2 separate regions of the Homo sapiens genome follow, and region 2 is linked to region 1. Evidence: promoter capture Hi-C in 16 types of primary human blood cells and fetal thymus (Javierre and others, 2016). All regions are on one chromosome and are shown on one strand. The core of a region is centred on a gene start or on the middle of the fragment in contact, and the rest is flanking DNA. Distances in the headings are between cores, read along the strand shown. Region 1 has its middle 4.0 kb from the start of LINC01695. Region 2 holds the start of ADAMTS5 (ADAM metallopeptidase with thrombospondin type 1 motif 5).

Region 1 (3,181 bases), core at 309-2,808:
TTCATATTATTAATTTATATGGAGTTTGAAATCGATCAAAAGCCATCTACCTGTCTTTTGCAAATAAACTGTCCTTAGTCCACCTCTTTACACATCCTGGATTTATATAGCTAATGTCTTCAAAATAGTATAGGATTTCACATTTGAAGTTTAATTTTCATATAGTCAATTTTATTTCAGCCTATGGATATCCTTTTAAATATTCTTACAAATTAGCTATCCCTTCTAGCTTTGGGCAATATGAAAATACTACATGTAATTTATTTAAATAAAATAACACACATGCACACAAATAAGTTAGATGAGGCCACATGCATTTCATCTGTCTTAGCCAGTTTGGACTGCTATACCAAAATACCATAGACTGAGTGGCTTAAATTATAGACTTATTCTCACACTTCTGAAGATCCAGGTGCTGCCGCATTTGGTTTCTGGTGAGTACTGTCTTCTTGGTTTGCAGACAGCCAGCTTCTGGCTATATCCTCATGTAGTAGACAAACAGAATATCTTTCTCCTCTCTCTTCTTATGAAGGCACTAATGCCATTTATGAGGGCTGTACCCTCATAACTTAATCACTCCCAAAAGACTCACTTCAAAATATTATCACATTATGGATTAGGGTTTCAGCATATGAATTTAGGGGGAACATAAACATTTAGTCCATAGTACCATCTGAGGATGCTTTTCAAGTTGATAATGTTCAAATTTTCATCTCTCTGTCCTTGCAAACATTATTTAATCAGTCTATATATTATCAGCTTATCCACCAATGATTTATGAGATTGTATTTCTGATTAACTTATCAGAAACCAAGATACTCTATCATGGTTATTGTTTTACCAGTTAAGTAAGACTTACAGACATAACAACTATGAGATAGTCCAGGTCTATTTAATAGAAAAGAGCTGCACACATATTCTGAAGTAGTTTGCTAACCTGAATTTGCATAAGAATCCACTAAATAAGCTTTAGAGAGCTGATGAGAATCCACTAAATTAGTTTGAGTGGATTCTTACGTAATTTCTAAATGCAGGTCTCAGGACACCATCCCCAAAATATGTTGATTCAGTAAACCTGTGGGGTTAATAATGAATCTACATTTACAATAGGGACTCCACTTCCCTAGGTTTTTTGTACATGATTGATCCTTGAACCATACTTTTGAAAAACACTGGAAGTTATATATTATGGAAGGAAAACAATATGTACTAATTTCAACCCAGAGAACTATGATGTGGACACATCTGAAGTGCAATATCAATAATATTTAATATGTATCCTACACAGTGAAATAGAAAAGAACAAATAATCCAACAGGGAATATATACTTTTATATTATGTGGTAAGACAACACATAAAAATAAAATAAATAAGATGTGACAGTAGAAATAAAGTTTTTTTCACATAAACCTTGGTTCAAGAATATAAGAAAATAACTAAGTATTAATATGTAAAAATTGCAAATGTTACAATACTGCAAGCAAGATTTCTAACCATCTTCTGGGTATGTGACTTTTACTTTTCTGCATATGTGGATATGTCAACAACTGGAATGGTAATGTGCTTTTCTTAGAATTATAAACAAGTTATGTAACAGTTTGGTGGTCCAAAGACATCCTCTAACATGTGTGGGTCTCTAAAGATACGATTTGGCTGTCAAGCCTTTTCTATTTATAGGAAAATAATACATAACGTATAAATTTCTAAACAGTATTAATTCTTTTTGCTGACATTTACCTATTTGTTTTTATTCAGTTTTATCTTTGCAATTTCTTACAAAATAAAATATTTTTCATTTTTATGTTGCCATGTGACTACATCTGAATATCAAATTTTTCCAAAATAGTAATCTGATTGTGTAACATCGTGGCTTAAAGCCCTTCAGATTCTTCACATGACTCTTAAGATGATATCCAAATTCTGGACATGACCCACAAGACCACTGCCAGCCAAGCCCTCCAGTCGGCCCTCTCTGGGTTCTTCATACCAGCTCTCTCCAGCTTAGCCACAACTCATCAAGATCTTGGTATATAACAGATACTGTCCCTAATGCATTATGGAACAAATCACCTTCAATCCCTGCTAAAGATGTTCCAGATAGAATGAATTTTCTTTTCTTTTCACAAATTGATCATTTGAAAAGAAAAGGAAGCTTTGCCATGTTTGTCATGTCACACAATACCACATCAGTTACGAAATGATGAGGCTCAGATTTGAACTCAGACAAGTCTAAATCCAAAACCCTAATTCTCACCATTGCATTACGGGGCTTGCTCTTTGAATTTTCAAATATGCCTTCTTTCTCTATTCTTCAAAGTGTCTGGAAAACTATCCTTGTTCCCAGAGCCTCCTTCACTGGCTAATTCTACCCCCAGTTCCTCTCAGGCAGTCTAGACTCTGTGTGTACGTTCCCATGTTACAAAGCACAATTCCTAATGGACTGTATTGTAATTGTACAGTTAGTTGTTTGTATCCCTCAAAAGAATTTTGTATGAAGGCAGAAAGCTTATTATTCACCAGAATCTCCAGACTGTCTGACACTTGGCATATAATAAATGACAAATAAATGTGTTGATTGGTTCGTTGAAATCATGAATGAATGAGGCTTTTGTATGAGAAAGTGTCAGAAATAACGTTTGTAGATTTGCTTGAAAATGTTGCGCAACTTAAAAATTGTGTTGGGATCTGGCAAGATGGCCGAGTAAGAATAGCTCCTGTCTGCAGTTCCCAGTGAGATCAACACAGAAGATGGGTGATTTCTGCATTTCCAACTGAGGTATCCGGTTCATCTTATTGGGAATGGTTAGACAGTGGGTGCAGCCCACAGAAGGCGAGCAGAAGCAGGGTGTGGTGTCGCTTCACCTAGTAAGTGCAAGGGACTGGGGAACTCCCTCCCCTAGCCAAGGGAATCTGTGAGGGACTGTGCTATCTGGCCCAGATATCACACTTTTCCCACAGTTTTTGCAACCCACAGACCAGGAGATTCCCTCGTGTGCCTCATCACCACGTCCCTAGGTTTCAAGTGCAAAACTGGGCTGCTGTTTGGGCAGACATGGAGCTAGTTGCAAGAGTTGTTTTTTTTTTTTTTTCATACCCCAGTGGTGTATGGAACTCCAGTGAGACAGAGCCATTCACTCCCTTGGAAAGGGAGCTGAAGTCAGGTAGCCAAGTGGTCTCACT
Region 2 (3,181 bases), core at 180-2,679, 1.3 Mb before region 1:
AGAGAGCGGACTGGTCCAAGAGCTGCGAGGCCAGTGCTGCGCGTCCGCTCGGGTTGCTGTGCGCCGGAGCATGCTCGTGGGCCTCCGGTGTGGACGCGGGGGTTTCGCAGCTGGCGCGCGGCGGCAGGGCCTCGAAGCTGAAGCCCTCGCGGGTGTAGACGTGCAGGATCCGTGCGGACCCATCCCCGTACACGCGCCCCTTTTCTTCCTCCGCCCAGGGTCCGCGCAGCAGTGGCTTTAGGGTGTAGCGCGCGTGCTTGACCGCGAAGAAGCCGTCGAGACCCCCACAGAGGTCAAAGACAGCCAGAGAGCGGGGACTACCGTCCACTGTGCCCCGATAGAAGCAGTGGCTCCGGTGGCGCCAGGGCGCACTCGTCCCGCCTCCTGCGGGCACGAAGCCAGCAATGCCCACCGAACCATCTCGCTCCAGGTCCAAGAGGAACCTCCGGCCGCCCGCGTAGACGAGGTAGCCCACCTTGCCGCCGCCGGAGTAGAGTTGGTCGATGTTCTGCACCAGCCCCTTGCTCCTGCGCCGCTGCGCCAGGGGGTGCGGGTGGCCGGGAGGCTCGGCTCGCTCCTGCACCTCCTCCCCCTGCCGCCGGCGGGGCTGGGCGGCTGCTGCAGCAGTCGGAGGCTGCCCGGCTTTATCCTGGGCAGGTGTCGCGGCGGGGCCGACCGCGGCCAGGGGCAGGCGGAACGCGCACAGCAGCAGGGACGCCCACCCGAGCAGCATAGTGCGCTGCCCGCGGGGAGGGGCTGCGCGACTGGGACTTTATGGGTATTTGTTATTTGCTATGAAGTTAACGGGGCGGGGGATGGGGACACACACACACTTGCTTGCAGGATTGAGTCAAGTGTCGGAGGGAGGGGGGCCCGGCAGCAGCGCCAGCCTGTCCGGGCTGCGGTGCCAGCGTGCGAACTTTTCTTTGTTGCTTGGGAAAATGTTTGGATTCGTGCTCCAGAAAGAGGTGGGGTGGGGGGGGGGGGAAAGAAAAGATTAAAAAAAAAAAGTCGGATAGTGGAGATTCAGCAAATACGGGAAAAGGAAAAAAACAAAAACCAAAAAACCACCAAATGCAGGCACGATCGCTGTTTCAAGAAAAGTAAGGAAAGGTACCGCGCACCGGGCTGGCAACTGGTGCGCGCAGCCTCCCGCCCCCGCGCTGCGCTGGACAAGCCGGCTGTGGAGGTTCCAAGCTCCGGGGCCCACTTCCTTTCTTATTTTGTGGGTTTCCTTGGCTCTGCTGGGACCAGGAGGAAGGGAAGAAAGAGAGGGGAAAAAGCCGTAAAAATTAAAACAAAAATGCAGGGGGGCAGCCTGAGGCGAGCTGGTGAAGCGGCGTGTCTGTGTCCCTTCGGCTGCGGTCTCCTCCTGCCCGCCGTCATCCCCAGTCGGCAGCTGCGAGCGCCGAGAGCAGCGCGAGCGCTGTGAAGATGCGAGGAGGTGGAACAATGAATTTATAGCGGCATGCCATCCTGCAATGGCAATTTCAACAGTTCGTCACTGCACGCTGCCTCTTAAAGGGAGAGCTTCCCCCACCACTCCCACCCTTCCCAGTCCGCGCCTAATCAGATGGGGGAGGGCAAAAGAGGAGGGTGATCGAGGAAAGGGAGACGAAGTAGGAGGAAGGGACTGGGACCCGGCGAGGTGGTAGGAGGGGAGAGGGGAAAATAAAAAGTAATGGGGCAAGAAAAACAGATTTCCTTGGCCACTTTTAAAGCCACAGCGGCTCCGGGTCTGTCTGATATTTCACAACCAATTGGGGTTGGCTAACCTTGGCTTACCTCATCTCCTGAACGGGTGTTTTGGTTAAAGTTATTGAGACGTTTCAAGTCTCTCCCTGCCTCCTTCTTGCCTGCTTTTCTCGCCCTCGGTGGGAAGTTCCTGCCGCAAGTTTTTCCCCTTTGCACACCCGTGCGCTCTGGCCTCGCAGACCGTGCAACTCCATCCACCAGCCAGAGCTTTTCAGCTTCCCGTGCGTCCCCTAACCACCGCGTTCCCTTCGCTTCCTCCCCTCCGTCCCGGCACCCGGTTTCCTCCCTCCCCATTCTCCAGCCTCTTGATGCTTTGACGCTCGCCGGATTCGGGCTCCGGGTGACTAACTTCTCCCGGCCACCAGCAGAGCGGCTGGACAGCCAGAGAGCCCAGGGCGCTTCCTGGCGCGCTGCGGTACCCCGGGGCGAGAACGCCCGCCGCTTGGGAACTCCGCAGCTTTGTGTGCGAACGGCGGGCTCCCAGCTTTCTCCAGCACGCCTTTCGTCAGGGTCCACAATCTGTCCCTTACTCCCAGCCCACTGGAACTTCCTTTGCTCTAAAAAGGCAGAGCGAGAAAGAGTTAACTCTTAGAGGGAATTCCGCTCATTTTTTTTCCCTGAAAGATTTTAAAATTTTGCGCTCATACTTTTATTTTTTGCTTAAATGATACTTTAATAATAAATTCCTATATCTGTTTTTGTCTCTTCTAAAGCAACCACTTATCGCCATAGGCCTTGACCTACCTTCATTCTCAGAAATTCCTTTTAGAAGAAAAAGAATACTTTTGGCGGAAGGAAGATTGGTGCTTATTAGTACGCGGGTGACATTATCACTGCTACTCGTTTCCTCTGACCTCTTTGTTTCCTCTAATTATCATTCTAAGAAGGGAGAAGGAAAACCCGACGACTTATGGTTAGAAGGTCTACCTTCTACTGTAGGGGTAAGAGCTCCCTCCATGCCCAAATTATTCTTCAGGCTAATTAACTAATGCACCAGTGAAAAATGAATGTGGTGTAATTTGTACATTTCCATCTTTTTCTACGTTTAACTTTGGCTACGCTGGGGATAGCAGGGCGGGTGCCTTAATGGGGCCCCAAGCTGATCGCTTTCTCTGGGAGGGAACCATGAGGGTCCAGAGCTTGATGGAGGTTCTTAGAGTGGCAATAATCCTCTGGAAGGAATTTCAGAATTGCCCGGCAACAATACCCATTGCCGTGTGCCTGGGAACACCCTCTGGAGTCTTGTGAGGGGCAGATGTATCATCTTGTTTTAACTTATAAATAAAGAAATCACTGGGGCCTTAGGGACACCCAACAGCCCCTGATAGATTCTGAAATACATCAGGACCAGGGAGGAAGTTACTATTGCTGAAGGCCATTGCTTTATAATTCCACAATGCCTCAGCCTCTCAGTGGCCAGTTGACC

Evidence for each region. Contacts are between HindIII fragments. The CHiCAGO score rates a contact against its expected background, and 5 or more counts as called.
Region 2: a contact is called between the fragment with the promoter of ADAMTS5 here and a fragment that was not itself captured in region 1, in 3 of 17 cell types (M0 macrophages, M1 macrophages and M2 macrophages). The highest score is 6.9, in M0 macrophages.

Annotation. Positions count from the first base shown.
Region 1 is chr21:28,231,066-28,234,246 of GRCh38, forward strand. No RefSeq gene overlaps it. Among named protein-coding and RNA genes, the nearest start is that of LINC01695, 4.0 kb to the left of the region's middle. The HindIII fragment of the contact is 1,186 bases long and covers 966-2,151 here.
Region 2 is chr21:26,965,659-26,968,839 of GRCh38, forward strand. It overlaps ADAMTS5 (ADAM metallopeptidase with thrombospondin type 1 motif 5), which reads right to left and starts at 1,430. Exons shown (of 8, transcript NM_007038.5): 1 at 1-1,430. The coding sequence starts at 733. LOC124905050 reads right to left here. Exons shown (of 3, transcript XM_047441063.1): 2 at 1,786-2,312; 3 at 998-1,426. The coding sequence ends at 998. The HindIII fragment of the contact is 6,499 bases long and covers 1-3,181 here.